5 separate regions of the Homo sapiens genome follow, and all the other regions are linked to region 1. The links are contacts of gene promoters, found by promoter capture Hi-C in blood cells and fetal thymus (Javierre and others, 2016). All regions are on one chromosome and are shown on one strand. The core of a region is centred on a gene start or on the middle of the fragment in contact, and the rest is flanking DNA. Distances in the headings are between cores, read along the strand shown.

Region 1 (3,154 bases), core at 628-3,127:
TCTCCAGAAAATTTCTTGTAAAGCCTTGGCTCTTAGAGCCAGGCCGGCAACCTTTGATAAGCAAATGAAGGCCATTAGAAACAGGGCCCACCCAACATGGCGATTCCGGAGGCCTTCTTTCCCTTGCCCCACATGTTCCTGGCAACATGGCCACCTCCACATACTCCCACGTGTGTAGAACATCATGGCACCCTGCATTTGCATATTAAAAGGCTAGGGTGAGAGGGCTAGCTTTTTCAAGGGCTTTGTGAATGACATGCCTGGTCAAACCAATCCCCTGAACCCTATGCAAATCAGACACTGCCTCCTCCAGCGTCTGTAATATATACCTAGCTGACGTCCACCCCACTGGGGGTTCCCTCTCTCGGCTTTGGAGCCCCCCTCCCTCTGTCTCTGTATGGGGGAGCTTCTTCCCTCTTTCCTCTTCCTTCTTGCCTATTAAACTCTCCGATCCTTAAAATCACTCCACATGTGTCTGTGTCGTTTTATCTAAACCGGGATGAGGACTAAGAACCTTGGTGTTCCTCCACTCATCGGAGCCGTATCAATTCTACATAGGTTGCCTCATTTAATCATCCAAACAGCGCTATGAAGTAGACCTGATTTCTATAGATATGAAAACTGAAGCACAGAGGTATTAACTTGCTCTGGGTTATAAAGCTGGAATATCCAGGTCTGTGGGACTTGAAAGTCCCTGTTGTTTCTACTATATCATGCTATATCCCATTTGTATACGCTTTATAGCACTTTGGGGATGTATATGACCTAGACAAAAGATGTAGGTTTAATTTAAGAGCACTTTCAATGCATGTTGATGGTACCCTTATCAACTGTTCAGCCAATTCTATCACATCAAGAATACAGCATGAACAGCATGGGTACTGACAAAGCGCGGAAGCACCTTGGAATGAGAAATGAGGATACCTGAGTCAAAAGGCAAGCAGGCGAATGAGGCCCGAAAGATAAACCAAGAAGGATTCCTGAATGCGGAGTGTGAGTAAAGAAAACTCAGTAGTACCCAAAAATGAAAAGAGAAATTAGGGTTCGATTATATTCATCAGTTTCTCTAAATCTCTCCTCTAGAATTTCCTAATAGATTTTATATTCAACTTTTCACCTACATGTAAAGTCAGGTTTCACGAGTCCAAAGAGGGAGATACTCTGAACTTAAAGGCACAGTGTTACCTGTCATGAAAGCTTGCTTGCCTACTCTAGCCATGGTAATTTTTCTTCTGAGCTATTGTGGCTCTTAATGTCTACACTTAAGTGGCTTATTTCCCATACAAATATCCTTGATTATCTTTTGAATTGCTTCTATTTTGTCTTCATCTGAATTGTAAGCTCCCCGTTTGGAACCATCTTCTACATATCTTTGTTTACTCCACAGCACCTTGCCAGAGCCCCCTTCAAGAGGTAGGCACTTGGTAGTTGTTGACTGATAAAAAGGAGGATATCACGTGAGAAACTGCAGAAAAGAGGCAAATAAAGAAAGTAAGCTAGAAAGACAGAGCATCCAGGTTGAGAAGGTGAGGCAATATTTAAGCCTTCAAGCTTCTAAGCTCATGTAAGGGACTGACACAGAGGTATACACAAACTTGAACCCTGACTTCTAGCCCCAGGCTTCCCACTCCTCTGCAATAGCTGTCTTCTTTCCTGACGGTCGCCCTCATCTTCAGCTCTGCAATCAATCTTTCTGCTGAGACTCTTACTTCCACATACCTCCACTTCATCCAGGGCTGAGGAAAAGCCAGACCTCAGTTAGGGACTAGGTCTTTTAAGACTGCAGAAGACAGGAGAGGAGGCCGGGTGACATTATTCTGAAGACAGCTGAAGCGCCATGTCTGTCTATAGCTGACCCATAAAATGACAGTTTTGTCTAAAAGCCGTTTTCCAGGCCACACCCTCATCAGTAGCTCATTGTTCCACGGGCACCGACCATGTTTCTGATTGGGTGGCACTGCCGTCCCCTCCCCCACCAACCTGAGTGGCCTACTACTGTACAAGGAAGGACTGGCTGTTTCAGGTTCTCTTATCCGCACATTTGAGGCAAGGGTCAGGGGAGACTGACATGACCCCAGAGTAGTTTACACAATTCTTCCCTTGGCCATGTGGAGGATGGTTGAAATTAGGCAATAGTTGGTAGGTGATCATCAGAAGTATCTCCAGAGCAAGCAAACACCTAATTTTAGTCAATAGTGGTTACAGCTTGTACCAGGACTATGAAATTTACCAGTTATAATAAATTCAATACTTACCTTCAGATATATTTGTGAGGTAAATTTTTGTTTGAAGAATTATATACCTGCCCTTTCTGACTGGTCAAGTGCACGCTTTTAATCAAATTTATCCCAAAGATAACTTGAAATCCAATGGGCACTGGATTTGAGTTTTCTTTATCTGATGTGACACTGGAAAAATGTATTTTAAGAGGCTGGTGTGTTTTCTAACAGCTTAAATCATGTGTTGATTTTCTAAATGTTCTTATGTATATCATCACAACCACAATTATCATTTAGGGGCACAGCTTTTAAAATTGGAATTTAAAAAGTCTTATTTAAAAAGCTGTACATGTTCTCCTATAAAGCCCCGCTCTGTAATTGTTTACTGTGTACTTCCAAATGTTGTAAAACACAGTTGTCTTAGGGAGGAAAACAAGAGGGTCATTTAATTATGTTCATTGAGTGAATTTTCTGGTGTGAGTTGTGGAAACCAGTCTTATAATTAGAATCATACCTCATTTAATTAAACAATCCCCTTAGGGAGAGCTATTCTTAATAAATGCCAGTGTTTTCTATTTCTGCTTCATTATATAAACAGGCTCCAGTAGAGACCTTTGTTTTACAGAAAGGAACCTTAGCTTTGAGGTCCATCCTCATTAACATTCAACCTTTCGCTATGATTTTATAAGTTAAAAAAGAAAATATTTACTATGAGGAAACAGCAGCACTGACATACCTTGGATCAAAGTTTCCTTAAAAGAGATGCCATACCACAAAAAAAGACTAAAGAATTTATCTCTTATTGAGCATTCTCCACCCCACCTACTACTCCTCTACCCCAAGCAGCTTCTTTTCTGCTATAAAGTTATTAGTTCAGAAACCGTGCAAATAGGTTAACACAGTATATCCTTTTTGTAGTAAAATTAAAACTTCCT
Region 2 (3,026 bases), core at 363-2,862, 170 kb before region 1:
GAAGTCCTGTATGTCATCCCTTTCTCTCACCATCTCCTTGCCTCTAGTCTAGGTCATGGCTGCAGTACACAGCACCAGAATTACTGCAGTCACTTCTTTGGTTTTTGTTTTGAGACAGTCTTGCTCTGTCACCCAGACTCAAGTGCAGTAGTGTAATCACGGCTTACTGCAGCCTTGAACTCTTGGGCTCAAGCAATCCTGCTGCCTCAGCCTCCTAAGTAGCTGGGACTGTAGGCATGTGCCACCACGCCTGGCTAATTTTTTTTTTTTTTTTTTTTAGAGATGGGGGTTTCGCTATGTTGTCCAGGCTGGTCTTGACCTCTTGGGCTCAAGTGATCCTCCTGCCTCAGCCTCCCAAAGTGCTGGGATTACAGGCATGAGTCACCACGTCTAGCCTGCAGTCACTTTTTTTTTTTTTTTTTCCTGACAAGGTCTCACTTGTCACCCAGGCGTGCTGTGGCATGATCTCAGCTCACTGCAACCTCCGCCTCCCAGATTCCAGCAATTCTTGTGCCTCAGCCTCCTGAGTAGCTGGAATTACAGGCACACGCCACCACGCCTGGCTAATTTTTGTATTTTTAGTAGAGCTGGATTTCACCATGTTGACCAGGCTAGTCTTGAATTCCTGACCTCAAGTGATCTGCTCGCCTCAGCCTCCCAAAGTGTTGGGATTACAGGCATGAGCCACTGTGCCTGGCCTGCAGTCACTTCTTAACTGCTTTCCCAATTTCAGTCCGTATTCCCCTCCACTCCATTTTCTACATAGCAGCAAGAACTATTTTACATCAGGTGCTGTCATTTTGTTGTTTAAAACCCTTTAGTCTTGGCTGGGCACTGTGGCTCATGCCGATAATCCCAGCACTTTGGGAGGTCAAGGCAGGAGGATCACTTGAGCTCAGCAGTTCAAGACCGGCCTGGGCAACATGGTGAAACCCTGTCTCTACAAAAAATATAAAAGTTAGCTGGGCCTGATGGCTCACACCTGTAGTCCCAGCTACTCAGGAGGCTGAAGTGGGAAGATTGCTTGCACCTGGGAGGTTGAGGGTGAAGTGAGCCATGATCATGCCACTGCACTCCAGCCTGGGTGACAAAGTGAGACCCTGCCCCCAGAAAAAAACCCTTGTTGGGAGGTCAAGGCAAGTGTATCACCTGAGGTCAGGAGTTTGAGACCAGCCTGGCCAACATGGCAAAACCCCGTCTCTACTAAAAATAGAAAAATTAGCCAGGCGTGGTGGCCCTCACCTGTAGTCCCAGCTACTCGGGAGGTTGAGGCAGGAGAATCACTTTAACCTGGGAGGCGGAGGTTGCAGTGAGCAGAGATCATGCCACTGCACTTCAGCCTGGGTGACAGAGCAAGACAAAAAAAAGAAAAAAAAATCTTTGATCTTATCAAATTGTTCTTGTTTTCCATAATATCAAAAACCCGGCATATAAATATATAACAAGTATAAGAGTGTATCGCCTAACTATATTATGGGCAGATACCTTAATAGTATCTTTCAAATAAAAAAGATACTTGCCAACTTTTAAAATAAATATATATGGAGTGCCTGAGGGAATTTCTTAAGGAGTCCATAGTCTATCATCAGTCTACCATAATCAGAATAGGAACTATAGTTTATTTTGGAATGGATTGTGAAGATTTTCTCTCACTCTGTGGGTTGTCTGTTTACTCTGCTGACTGTTCCTTTTGCCACACAAAAGCTCTTTAGTTTAAGTCCCAGCTATTTATCTTTGTTTTTGTTGCATTTGCTTTTGGGTCTTGGTCATGAAGTCTTTGCGTAAGCTAATGTCTAGAAGGGTTTTTCCAATGTTCTCTTCTAGAATTTTTATAGTTTCAGGTCTTAGATTTAAGTCCTTGATCTATCTTGAGTTGATTTTTGTATAAGGTGAGAGATGAGGATCCAGTTTCATTCTCCTACATGTGGCTAGCCAATTATCCCAGCACCAGTTGTTGAATAGGGTGTCCTTTCCCCACTTGATGTTTTTGTTTGCTTTGTCAATGATCAGTAGGCTGTAAGTATTTGGGTTTATTTTTGGGTTCTCTATTTTGTTCCTTTGGTCTATGTGCCTATTTTTATTACAGTACCAGGCTGCTTTGATGACTGTGGCCTTATAGTATGGTTTGAAATCAGGTAATGTGATGTCTCCAGATTGTATGCAGGCTCTTTTTTGGTTCCATATGAATTTTAGGATTGTTTTTTCTAGTTCTGTGAAAACTGATGGTGGTATTTTGATGGGAATTGCGTTGAATTTGTAGATTACTTTTGGCAGTATCATCATTTTCACTTTTTTTTTTTCTTCGAGACAGAGTCTCGCTCTGTCGCCAGGCTGGATTGCAATGGCGTGATCTTGCCTGACTGCAACCTCTGCCTCCTGGGTTCAAGCAATTCTCCTGCCTCAGCCTCCCAAGTAGCTGGGACTACAGGCGCACATCACGCCCAGCTAATTTTTGTATTTTTAGTAGAGACGGGGTTTCACCATGTTAGCCAGGCTGGTCTCGATCTCTTGACCTCGTGACCCTCCCGCCTCGGCCTCCCAAAGTACTGAGATTACAGGCGTGAGCCACCGCGCCTGGCCTTCGCAATATTAATTCTTCCTATCCGTGAGCATGGGATGTGTTTCCTTTTGTTTATGTCATCTGTGATTTCTTTCAGCAGTGTTCTGTAGTTTTCCTTGTAGAAGTGTTTCACCTCCTTGGTTAGGTATATTCCTAAGTATTTTGTTTTACTTTTTTTGCAGCTATTGTAGAAGGGGTTGAGTTCTTGATTTGATTCTCAGCTTGGTTGCTGTTGGTGTATAGAAGAGCTACTGATTTGTTTACATTAATTTTGCATCTGGAAACTGCTGAATTCTTTTATCAGTTCTGGGAGCTTTCTGGAGGAGTCTTTAGGGTTTTCTAGGTAAACAGTCTTATCATCAGCAAACAACAACAGTTTGACTTCCTCTTTACTGATTTGGATGCCCTTTATTTCTTTCTCTTGTCTGATTTCTCGGGCTAGGACTTCCAATACTTTGTTGAAGAG
Region 3 (3,255 bases), core at 450-2,949, 140 kb before region 1:
TAAGACTGGGAGCAGAGGCTGGATTCAAGTTGATATAGCATGAGCAGTGTTGCAGATGCACAGATCTAACTTTAGCCATCCTGAAGGGACTCTGATGTGAAAGGATTGCATGTCCTGAACTCTCTTGCTGGTGGATGGTGGGAACCTCTATCTATGGGCTCTGCTGATCTAGAGTTTTTAGGAGTGCTGTGTTTTAACAAGTTTGAGTGTTCAAATTCAGATATTACTTGCTTGGAATGCTTCTATTCTGCTGACTGTATCTGCCCCCCTTGCATGGTGAGTGTTTTATGATTAAATATAGTTGGACTATTGGTTTCAACATGAGACTAATCCAGGGTGGTGACATGCCGGTCTTTGTAGTTCTTGCTTCGGGGTTAATGAGGGGCAGGAAAGAGTTCCTTAGACTCCTGCATGGCATCATGAATGCTGCTGTTCTTCTTACCTTGGTTTTTTTCCTCCTCCTCTACCTTTTCTACCTTGGTGTGCTGGGATCAGATCCTGCTTATCTTCCACTTCTTAAGAAAAGCTGACATAGAAGACACATTGGGACTATAACAGGGCTGGGTCTCCTCTTCCACTCCCACTAGACACATGGTAACTAATCACATTGCCCATTACTGTTAATATTCCTGTGTATGTATTCAGCCCCTCTCCCTTGTTGATGACTAACCAGCTAGCTCTGAGCTAACCCAACAGCTATTATGATTTGTCCATGAATATGTCACATGTTTGTATTGGAAACATGTTGAGCATACTATCTGGATGAAATTGGATTGTGAAGTTACATAGAGTTTTTATGCACATCTGAATATTTGTGCTCTTCATGTAAAATGCCATTGTGTATGTGTGTGTGTGCATTAGTTTTCTTTTTTCATATATGTATTATGTTATCAATATTTAAGATCCTGACTGATTATGTATTAGAATAATTAAACCATTTTGGTTCAGAGCATGTAGCCTCCCATTTCACAGAAGGAACAGTTTGCAGAATGCATGGTATGCTTTGGTCTTAGTAATGACACTTTAAATGTGATTCTCCCCAAACTCCTAAGTTTTAAAAGTATATATCAAAAGGCTTTAAGCTGTACTGATGACACATCTCATTGGAAAATCCCTACGCTGTACCCCAGCTTTCTTACTTCCTGGCATTCACTTTCCCTGATTCATTTATGAGATAGTGCTTGTTGTTAAAGACTACTGTCACCGTGAAAAGGTTCAGCCTGTGTGACCTGGCATTCCCTAATTTCTCATTCATGACTTCCTGAGTTTTTGGGGGGATTTGATTGTGGTATTGGTAGGGAATAAAAATATGGAGAGAACAAGATAAGCCAAGACTTGCCTGGATATATATCTGTAATTTAAAACATACATTCAGAAGAGGTTTGCCTTTGATTATAACAAAAGTGAATTGCCATTAAGCTAATAAAAGGTACCATAGAGCTTGTTCCCTTAAACCTTTATCCCAAAGGAGGGTTGATGGCAGGGGGAAAAGACAAACAGCAAAAGGATAAATGTGTATTGTAACTAGAATTCCAATATGATTTTTGTAAACTGGGTTGAAGAGGTTGTACCATATTTGTTTCTGTGCCTCCCCCAGTGATGAGTTCATTGACTTAGAAGAATGAGTGAGTGTCAGGTATAGAAAATAGTTTAAAAACATGTGATCATTTTGACACCCATTGTTATGTTGTCTTTTGTTTTTATATATCTGTTGCTTCATCTTGCCGTCAGTTGCATTTCTATATTTTTGTTTCTATTTATTTATTATTATTATTTTTTACATTTGTTCTTCAAATTGCCAATTCATCAGCTGCAGTACATCAGAGAGTTTGTCACCAGTTAAGCAGGCTCCTCGGAAGTCCCCCTCCGACACTGAGGGTCTTGTAAAGAGTCTGCCTTCTGGATCTCACCAGGTAATGGCTGATTGCGATTCTGCCCACTGCACTGTTCCCTACAGCTTGGTGCTCTGTCACTTCCTTGGGTGTGGAAAAGAATACTGAGCTATGAGAGACAGAGACAGAGACAGACAGACAGAGACAAAGAGAGAGTGGGAGTGAGGAATTAAAGGGCTGGCCTAGGAAGACCACAGGAAAATATGTGGTGAAGAATCTGCTTGAGTAAAGATTTCCATGAAACCACCAATAACATAAATTGTTTACTAACCATGTAGCTTCCTTGCCTCAAGCAGAATTAGGAAATGGCTTTGTCAGTAAAAGATTCTTTAATTGCCCAAGGAAATGAATCTAATGAAGGAGATTCTTTCTGTATTGAGGTACTCTAAGATAAGAAATTAGCAAGGAAAAGTTGGTATTCTTAGTATTGATAATAAAACCAAAATTATTTTCTGTGGATTCTTTAGAAAAAATGGAAAGTAAGCATTTATCTGAATAATTAATAGGCTTGATGAACAAGGAATGGTTTTGGTTTCTACTTGTAGAAAGTACAGAAGAGAAACAGGTTTTATTTGGAAGTTAGCATATAATCTAGCTTTGTGTGTTTTGGCTGTAGTATTTTAATTATAACTGTGGCTTGGCAAAAATTCCATAGCTTAGTTCAGTTTGATTTTTCTGGGGTAGAAAGCATGCTAAAGAATTTGGCCAGTTATAGCTTTGTCCTAAAAAGGTGTTAGCTGGTGGGAATGGATTTAAGAGGAAATAAAGAGAGTAACAGTGTTTTGTGGGAAAAGTACCCATAGTCTTATTCCATAGTTGTTATATGTGGTGAGGAAACTAAGGCATTGTGATGTTAAATTACTAAAAGCACACACCCAGTTAGTGACAGAACTGGGGCTAGAACCCAGGTGTCTAGATAGCATGTTCTCTACCACAGCATCAGGCTCATTACTTGTTCCTGTTCTATCTGTCTGTCTCTCTCTCACATTACATAATATATGTCAGATACCTCAGTCTACTAATTTGGGTTGTGAACAGGAATATGGTTGTAAATGAAGACATGAAAGTTACATACACATAGGCATAGCATCTAAAAAAGCATTGGAACATTTTTATTCCGCCCTTGAAGCACTATGGAAGTTGCTTTTTTGCTGAAAACAAACCAGAAAAAAGAAAAAGAAACTGTGGTTTTCAAGACAGTGGAACACAAATTATGCAGCACTGTCATCCCCAAAAGAAAGGAAACAGACAATGTGAGCCGTGTTATTGCCCCAGTGTACTGCCTTGAAGCAGTTTCCACACTGCAGTGTAGGTGGGGAAAATGGAAACTGGGCCCAGCTGTCTCACTCAATTGAGAAGGCGG
Region 4 (3,075 bases), core at 385-2,884, 150 kb after region 1:
TTATTAATAGAAGTAACCAATTTATATTTCTTGCATTTTATTGCCTAAAAGTTAGCATGAAAATAATTAGAGGAAGGAGTGAGAAAAGAGAAGATAAGTAAATTTAACAGTAGCTCAGATAACAATAAAATTGTCTCCCCTCTTTTGTGAGAGCACCAAAAATGGCAAAGTAGCAGCTGCAGTTAAAATTTTTTAAAATCCTTGTTTGAAATACAAAGATTTTTGATGTTTCATTCATGTGCATTCATTTAAAAATGTCATTATAACTATTCCAGTATATCATATGCCTTTGATTCTGCTTCATAAAATTAAGTATGTTTGTATCTTTCTCAATTGTGTTAGCTTATAATAGCTAATGATCTTCTTTCTATTCTTTGGGTCTAAAGCAAAATACAAAAGACAATTTCTTTTATCTGTGAATTATTTCATTGTCTTATAAAGCTAAATTGGTACAATTTTTGGAAAGTTCAGCAACATATATGTAAATTGCCATTATACTGCCCAAAACCCAGAAATCCTATTCTTTCATTTAGCAGTTAATAATTAAGCACCTATTGTATCCCAAGTACCATTTCAGGTGCTGTAAATATAGTATTGAACAAAGCAAAGTCCCTCTTCTTAGGGGGGATTTTCTATTACTTACTGCCATCTTACCCTTGCTGATGAATGCCTATCATAATTTAAAGAAGCTAGAAGACAGATTTTTGTCAGTTTTTTTTTTTATAGATAGGGGATCTCACTATATTGCCCAGGCTGGTCTCAAACTCCTCAGCTCAGGCAGTCCTCCTGCCTTGGCCTCCCAAAGTGCTGGGATTACAGGTGTGAGCCACTGCGCCCAGCATCAATTTTTAATTTTACTATTTTCTAAGCCAGTTTTTTAAAAAATGTAAGAATTAAAACAAATAAAAAAATGTAAGAGTAGCATAAATCTTTGTTTTAATAACTTTGATTTGAATTTTTAAATAATTTTTTTTAACCCTTAGATAAAAGAAGCCAATTTCTGGGGTGCTAACTTTGTAATGAGTGGTTCTGACTGTGGCCACATTTTCATCTGGGATCGGCACACTGCTGAGCATTTGATGCTTCTGGAAGCTGATAATCATGTGGTAAACTGCCTGCAGCCACATCCGTTTGACCCAAGTAAGATATCTTTTCTAGGACGAGGGCTAGAAATTATTTGTATGACTCATCAGTCATACAAAATTATTCTTTTTTAATTGTTAATATTATAAGAATAATCCAAACTATCTGACTAGGCAGCAGTAGAGTCAATTACAGCTGAACTTGCACTTCAAACACACCTGTAATCTGCTTTTTGCACAAAGTAAAAGAAAATAGGTTAAAAAGTTTATTCTCCCAATATTTCTTCTAAGTTTTACAAGCTGTAAGAGGTTTGGTGTGACTGAACTTTTTATTGTATATCCAAATGGAACATCCAGTCATTTTTAGTCTTCACATAGCTGAATTAATTTATCAGAACAAAAGAGCATTGCTCGTCTTCTTTTTGAAATTGCCCACATATCTCATAAAAGAACAATGAATAAGTGACTTCAACAATGAATCTGAGTGACTTCAACATGGTATTAAAATTACGTTCTAGGATAACATTTAGCAAATTGTCAAAATAATATTTTCAATTAACAGTTAAATATATAGTGTACAATTGCTGTTCAAGGTTAGTTTTGCTATATATACATATATGCATAATATAAGCATATCCTGAATTGCATGTTTCTAGGCTTCATATTAATATATAAATTTTATTTCTAGTTTTAGCCTCATCTGGCATAGATTATGACATAAAGATCTGGTCACCATTAGAAGAGTCAAGGATTTTTAACCGAAAACTTGCTGATGAAGTAAGATTTTTATTGTACTTACTATAGACCATATTTCAATTTGTTCCTAAAATGCTTCCCTAAGAAAAATTAAAAGTTATTAGTTGCTAACATGAAACAAGTTAATGCAGTTAAGGAGGTCAAATTTTAAGAAAAAGAAAAATTAAGATAAAAGGATGTCTATAATACTAGGGAGGTAAAATCTAAATAGTAGCTTACTAATTATAATATTCATCATCGGTAACACCAGATTAGGTGTATAGTAGTTTAAGAAAAACAGGTTTGAGTATTCATGTTATTACAATAAAGAATCACACACAAAAAAATCTGTCCTTTTAAGAAAATAATTTTATTATAACTGTTTCTCCAAAAGCCTAGCAATTTTTCCATTTTTAGTACAGCTATTTTTCCATTTTGAGTTTTTCTTAAAAAGGAAATGGAACTTTGTTTTTCAGGATTAGTATATAGCAGAACAAATGAGTGAAGAATCTTTTCCTTTATCATTATATTTTAAGATTTTTTTAAGCCTGTTAAAACAGTATTTTCAGCCTGAGTTCTTTGGAGCTCTGGATTTCTTCTGGGATGGGAGAGGGAAGGTGGATAATAGGAAGGCATTACTCTGGGCCTTTCCTCCCCAACTTCAACCAGGGTTTTTATTTGTGGGTTCTCATATACTATTTCTTATGAAAATGAGAATCCATTGCTAAAAATGTTAGTAAGTTGGAAAACCACTACTCTAGACTAACACTGACTGTTCGTAGCACAATTCCCATGTATACTTTCACTCATTGAATAGGCATTTATAAAACAGTTGATGTATTGTATACATAATGCTGGGTGTAAAAAAGATAAGGCCCTACCCTCAGAGTTTAGTGGGAAAGACAATGTAAACAGCTAGAACATACTGTAGTGGGGTCTGTGTCAGTCAGAGGTATACACATAGTGTTTTGGAAGCCCACAGAGAGGAACAGCTGTTTGTAAATGGGGTAGATAGGATGGAGAGGTCTTCACAGAAGAAATAAGAATTGGACAGAAGTCTGAGAATAGTTCACCAGGCAGACAGGGAGCAAAGCAGCATTTAAGACAGAAGGATCAGCATGTGCCAAAGCATGAGAGGGTAAATGAACCATCAGTGTGCCTGGAACCCTAGAGTACATGCACAAAAGTAGCTTAATCAAACTAAACGGTTAGGTGAGGGTAAGATTGTGAAGGGCCCTGTGGGGCACCCTGATGAGTT
Region 5 (3,379 bases), core at 71-2,570, 200 kb before region 1:
AGCCGGGGCGAGCCCGTAAGCCGGAAGGCGGCTTCCGGGAGCGCGTGCGAACGTGGAGGCCACGCCGGCGATGGGGGGTTGGAACGGCCGGACCAGGCAAAAGCCGGTCCCTCCCTGCTCCTCCACGCTGTGGGGCAGTAAGCGCTCCGGACCCGAGGCTTAGGGAATCAGAGGACACGCAGTATAAGGGTCGCAGGTCGTGGTTGCTCGGAACACGAGGTGAGAGGCGGAACAAGGCTGAAGGGAAGCTCTGGGAGTGCCCTTGCCGAGAGCGGCTCGTTGGTCTAGGGGTATGATTCTCGCTTCGGGTGCGAGAGGTCCCGGGTTCAAATCCCGGACGAGCCCAGGCTTTTACCCACCCCACACCCGAAATTTAAAAACAGATTTTTTCCCCCTAATTCCCCACATATTCCATTCAGAAACTTAAATGAAAACATACTGGTCCCATGAGCTCGAATGTTGATCCCCTTTGTTTTTTGAAGCGAGGGACCATGTGAGCTCAATTAATACAACATATGGTTACTGTACGCCCAAAGGCAACGCATTCAAATTGCTTTGTACCATGTAAAACACACACTCTTGAAAAACAGACGCCTAGTGCGGAATCCTGTGCACGCCTTTAACTCCTCCAAACGAGCAGGGGGCGTCATGGATTAGCATGTCCCGGGGTTCGGGAATCAGCATTTCCGAGGAAAGGGGCGCTCAGGAGATATCCCCACCCCCGATGAGGGGCACTGTCGTGGATGAGTTTAAACCACGCCATAGGCAGCCAAGAACTGAGCTCCCGATGGCCCTGTACACGCGCTGCACCCAGGAATAGACAGCTAGGGACAATGTTTTCATAGTACAATACTACATTACTAGCAAACTTTTTACATTTTCAAAATGAGGCCTTTTAATGGTATTTCAATGTAGAGTGTGCTCTAAGTTTCCAAAAATCTCAATTTTGTGTTTTACTCTGACCAACCTGTATTTATTACGTTTAGTAATCTATCCCCAAAAAAACTCACCTTTAAGTGATTCTTACTCCAAAACAGGGCTCGTCCGGGATTTGAACCCGGGACCTCTCGCACCCTAAGCGAGAATCATACCCCTAGACCAACGAGCCGACACAAACTCCACCTTACTGTCATCAGAAAGGAACACATAGCTATTTAGTCCTGCGCCCTCAAGTGGTTGCTCGCATGTTAGGATTCGATCTTTGGGTTGTGTTTGCTTTCTATAGATACCGCGTTTTCAATTTTCTTTCTTTTCTGTTTTGCTCTTTGAAAATCAGTAACACAGAAGACAGCAAAATTGTCACTATCAGTATAATATCGACCTCTTATTTCGAAAATTGTAATTGTATTTCTATTCATGGCTAATAAATGGCTATTAGTGTGGGACAATGTCACTGTGGCAGATTCCAGACTCTCTCCGTTACTGAGTGAGTTCTGGATGTTTCATTCGTTCTTTTTCGCACTTTTCTATAATGTTAAAATCTCGGTTTCTTGCCGATATTTTTTATTGTAATATTCAAAGCCCTACCTATCTAGCCTTGTGAATTCCCATCTCTGTTTTTACTCGAAGTGTTCTCTTCAGCTGGAAAACCTGTTTGCTTTTGGACAAATCCCAAACTCTAACCTTCCCAGAAAAAGATCCTTTAACATATCAAAACCAATAGTATGTGGTAAATAACTGGGTTTCAGTCTTATCTCCTCCAACTGTAACTTCTTAGAGCGCAAGACACCTACACCAACACGAAATTCTACTGTAGAATTGGCAACCAATTGTGTGATTGCTGTTCGATTGTCCCAATATCTTTAATTAGATATAGTAAGCATGGCTTCTTAACTATATTTTAAATTCTTTTTCCTTTCTTTCTTTTTTTTTTTTTTTTTTTGAGACGTTGTCTCGCTTCGCTCTTTCGCCAGGCTGGAGAGAAGTGGTGTGATCTCGGCTCACTGCAACCTCCGCCCCCTCCGCCCTCCAGGTTCAAGCGATTCTCCGCCTCCCGAGTAGCTGGGATTACAGGCACCTGCCACCATGCCCAGCTAATTTTTGTATTTTTAGTAGAGGCGGGTTTCACCATGTTGGCCAGGCTGGTCTCCAACTCCTGACCTCAGTTGATCCACCCTCCTCGGCCTCCCAAAGTACAAGCGTGAGCCACTGCGCCCGGCCTAATTTCTTTTTTTTTTTTTTTTTTTTTTTTTTTTTTTTTTGAGACAGAGTCTAGCTCTGTCACCCAGGCTGGAGTGCAGTGGCGCGATCTCGGCTCACTGCAAGCTCCGCCTCCTGGGTTCATGCCATTCTCCTGCCTCAGCCACCCCAGTAGCTGGGACTACAGGCGCCCGCCACCACGCCTGGCTAATTTTTTTTGTATTTTAATAGAGTCGGGGTTTCACCGTGTTAGCTAAGATGGTCTCGATCTCCTGACCTCGTGATCCACCTGCCTCGGCCTGCCAAAGTGCTGGGATTACCACCGTGCCTGGCCCTAAATTCTTAAATACTTAGCATTGAGGCTTATCATAAGGAAGCTGGTGCTCAATGAATGATTCTGAATGATTACAATTTGTCTCAAATTCCTTAACAATACGAATTTTAGGTGTTTTTTGTTTGATACAGGGTCTCACTCTGTCGCCCGGGCTGGAGTGCAGTGGCATGATCATGGCTCACTGCATTTTAGTACTTTTGTTGCCGGAAAAAGGGGTCTTCACCGAACCTGGAGAGAGGGTTCTTGGATCTCGTGCAGGAAAGAATTCAGGGTGAAAGAAGCAAGTTTATTGGAAACTACTCTGTTACAGAGCAGGATGTTCTCAGAAAGTAGGAGGAGAAACACCCCGTTCTTAAGTTTTTCTTATATAGTGATCTTACCTATGTAAAAGCTAGGCTAAGCTGTGCCTACATACGGGTGAGCAGACAACATGACAAATTTTGTTACTCTGTTGATTTAAAGAAGACAATTATTGACATTTTAGTGTGTGAATACGTAAAAGCATAACTGTGATTATCTTAAAGGCATATATTGTTGTAGATATTAGGACATTTGGACTTCTTGCTGTTGTAGGAGTCAGTCCTAGTTATCTTCAGGCTGTTTCCTTAATTATAAACATCCCATGACTATGGGTCGTGGCAGGCAAGGAATGTGCCTTGTTAGTCCTAAAATGGAGCTGAACTTAAAATGGCATTATTCTAGCTTTCCTAGGCTGCTGCTTCCCTAACACGTTGACAAACACATTGACAAACAGTAATTGTGAATTGTCATTCTAGCAAATAACCAACCAGATAGGAAACAAGTAGACAGAGTGACTATCTTAAATAGACCTATTCATTAATTTTATTTCATATGTCATACATTCATCGGTTTATTCATTCATTCATTCATTGCTCATTCTTTTTT

What was found. Contacts are between HindIII fragments. The CHiCAGO score rates a contact against its expected background, and 5 or more counts as called.
Region 2: a contact is called between a fragment that was not itself captured here and the fragment with the promoter of ADCY10 in region 1, in 2 of 17 cell types (M1 macrophages and erythroblasts). The highest score is 6.3, in M1 macrophages.
Region 3: a contact is called between a fragment that was not itself captured here and the fragment with the promoter of ADCY10 in region 1, in 2 of 17 cell types (M1 macrophages and erythroblasts). The highest score is 6.1, in M1 macrophages.
Region 4: a contact is called between a fragment that was not itself captured here and the fragment with the promoter of ADCY10 in region 1, in 1 of 17 cell types (erythroblasts). The highest score is 5.2, in erythroblasts.
Region 5: a contact is called between a fragment that was not itself captured here and the fragment with the promoter of ADCY10 in region 1, in 3 of 17 cell types (erythroblasts, M0 macrophages and M1 macrophages). The highest score is 9.3, in erythroblasts.

Annotation. Positions count from the first base shown.
Region 1 is chr1:167,912,257-167,915,410 of GRCh38, forward strand. It overlaps ADCY10 (adenylate cyclase 10), which reads right to left and starts at 1,878. Exons shown (of 33, transcript NM_018417.6): 1 at 1,720-1,878. It also overlaps a transcript of DCAF6 not described here. RefSeq lists enhancers at 906-1,582, 1,583-2,259. The HindIII fragment of the contact is 13,833 bases long and covers 1,550-3,154 here.
Region 2 is chr1:167,740,926-167,743,951 of GRCh38, forward strand. The region is part of intron 1 of MPZL1 (myelin protein zero like 1); the gene reads left to right. Among named protein-coding and RNA genes, the nearest start is that of MPZL1, 20 kb to the left of the region's middle. The HindIII fragment of the contact is 6,033 bases long and covers 1-3,026 here.
Region 3 is chr1:167,774,254-167,777,508 of GRCh38, forward strand. It overlaps MPZL1 (myelin protein zero like 1), which reads left to right. Exons shown (of 6, transcript NM_003953.6): 5 at 1,811-1,913. Among named protein-coding and RNA genes, the nearest start is that of MPZL1, 54 kb to the left of the region's middle. The HindIII fragment of the contact is 3,865 bases long and covers 1-3,255 here.
Region 4 is chr1:168,064,607-168,067,681 of GRCh38, forward strand. It overlaps DCAF6 (DDB1 and CUL4 associated factor 6), which reads left to right. Exons shown (of 22, transcript NM_001198956.2): 19 at 984-1,140; 20 at 1,771-1,859. Among named protein-coding and RNA genes, the nearest start is that of MIR1255B2, 67 kb to the left of the region's middle. The HindIII fragment of the contact is 9,016 bases long and covers 1-3,075 here.
Region 5 is chr1:167,714,452-167,717,830 of GRCh38, forward strand. It overlaps TRP-CGG1-1 (tRNA-Pro (anticodon CGG) 1-1), which reads left to right and starts at 274; the gene lies at 274-345. It overlaps TRP-AGG2-1 (tRNA-Pro (anticodon AGG) 2-1), which reads right to left and starts at 1,108; the gene lies at 1,037-1,108. RefSeq lists a silencer at 295-394. The HindIII fragment of the contact is 8,006 bases long and covers 1-3,379 here.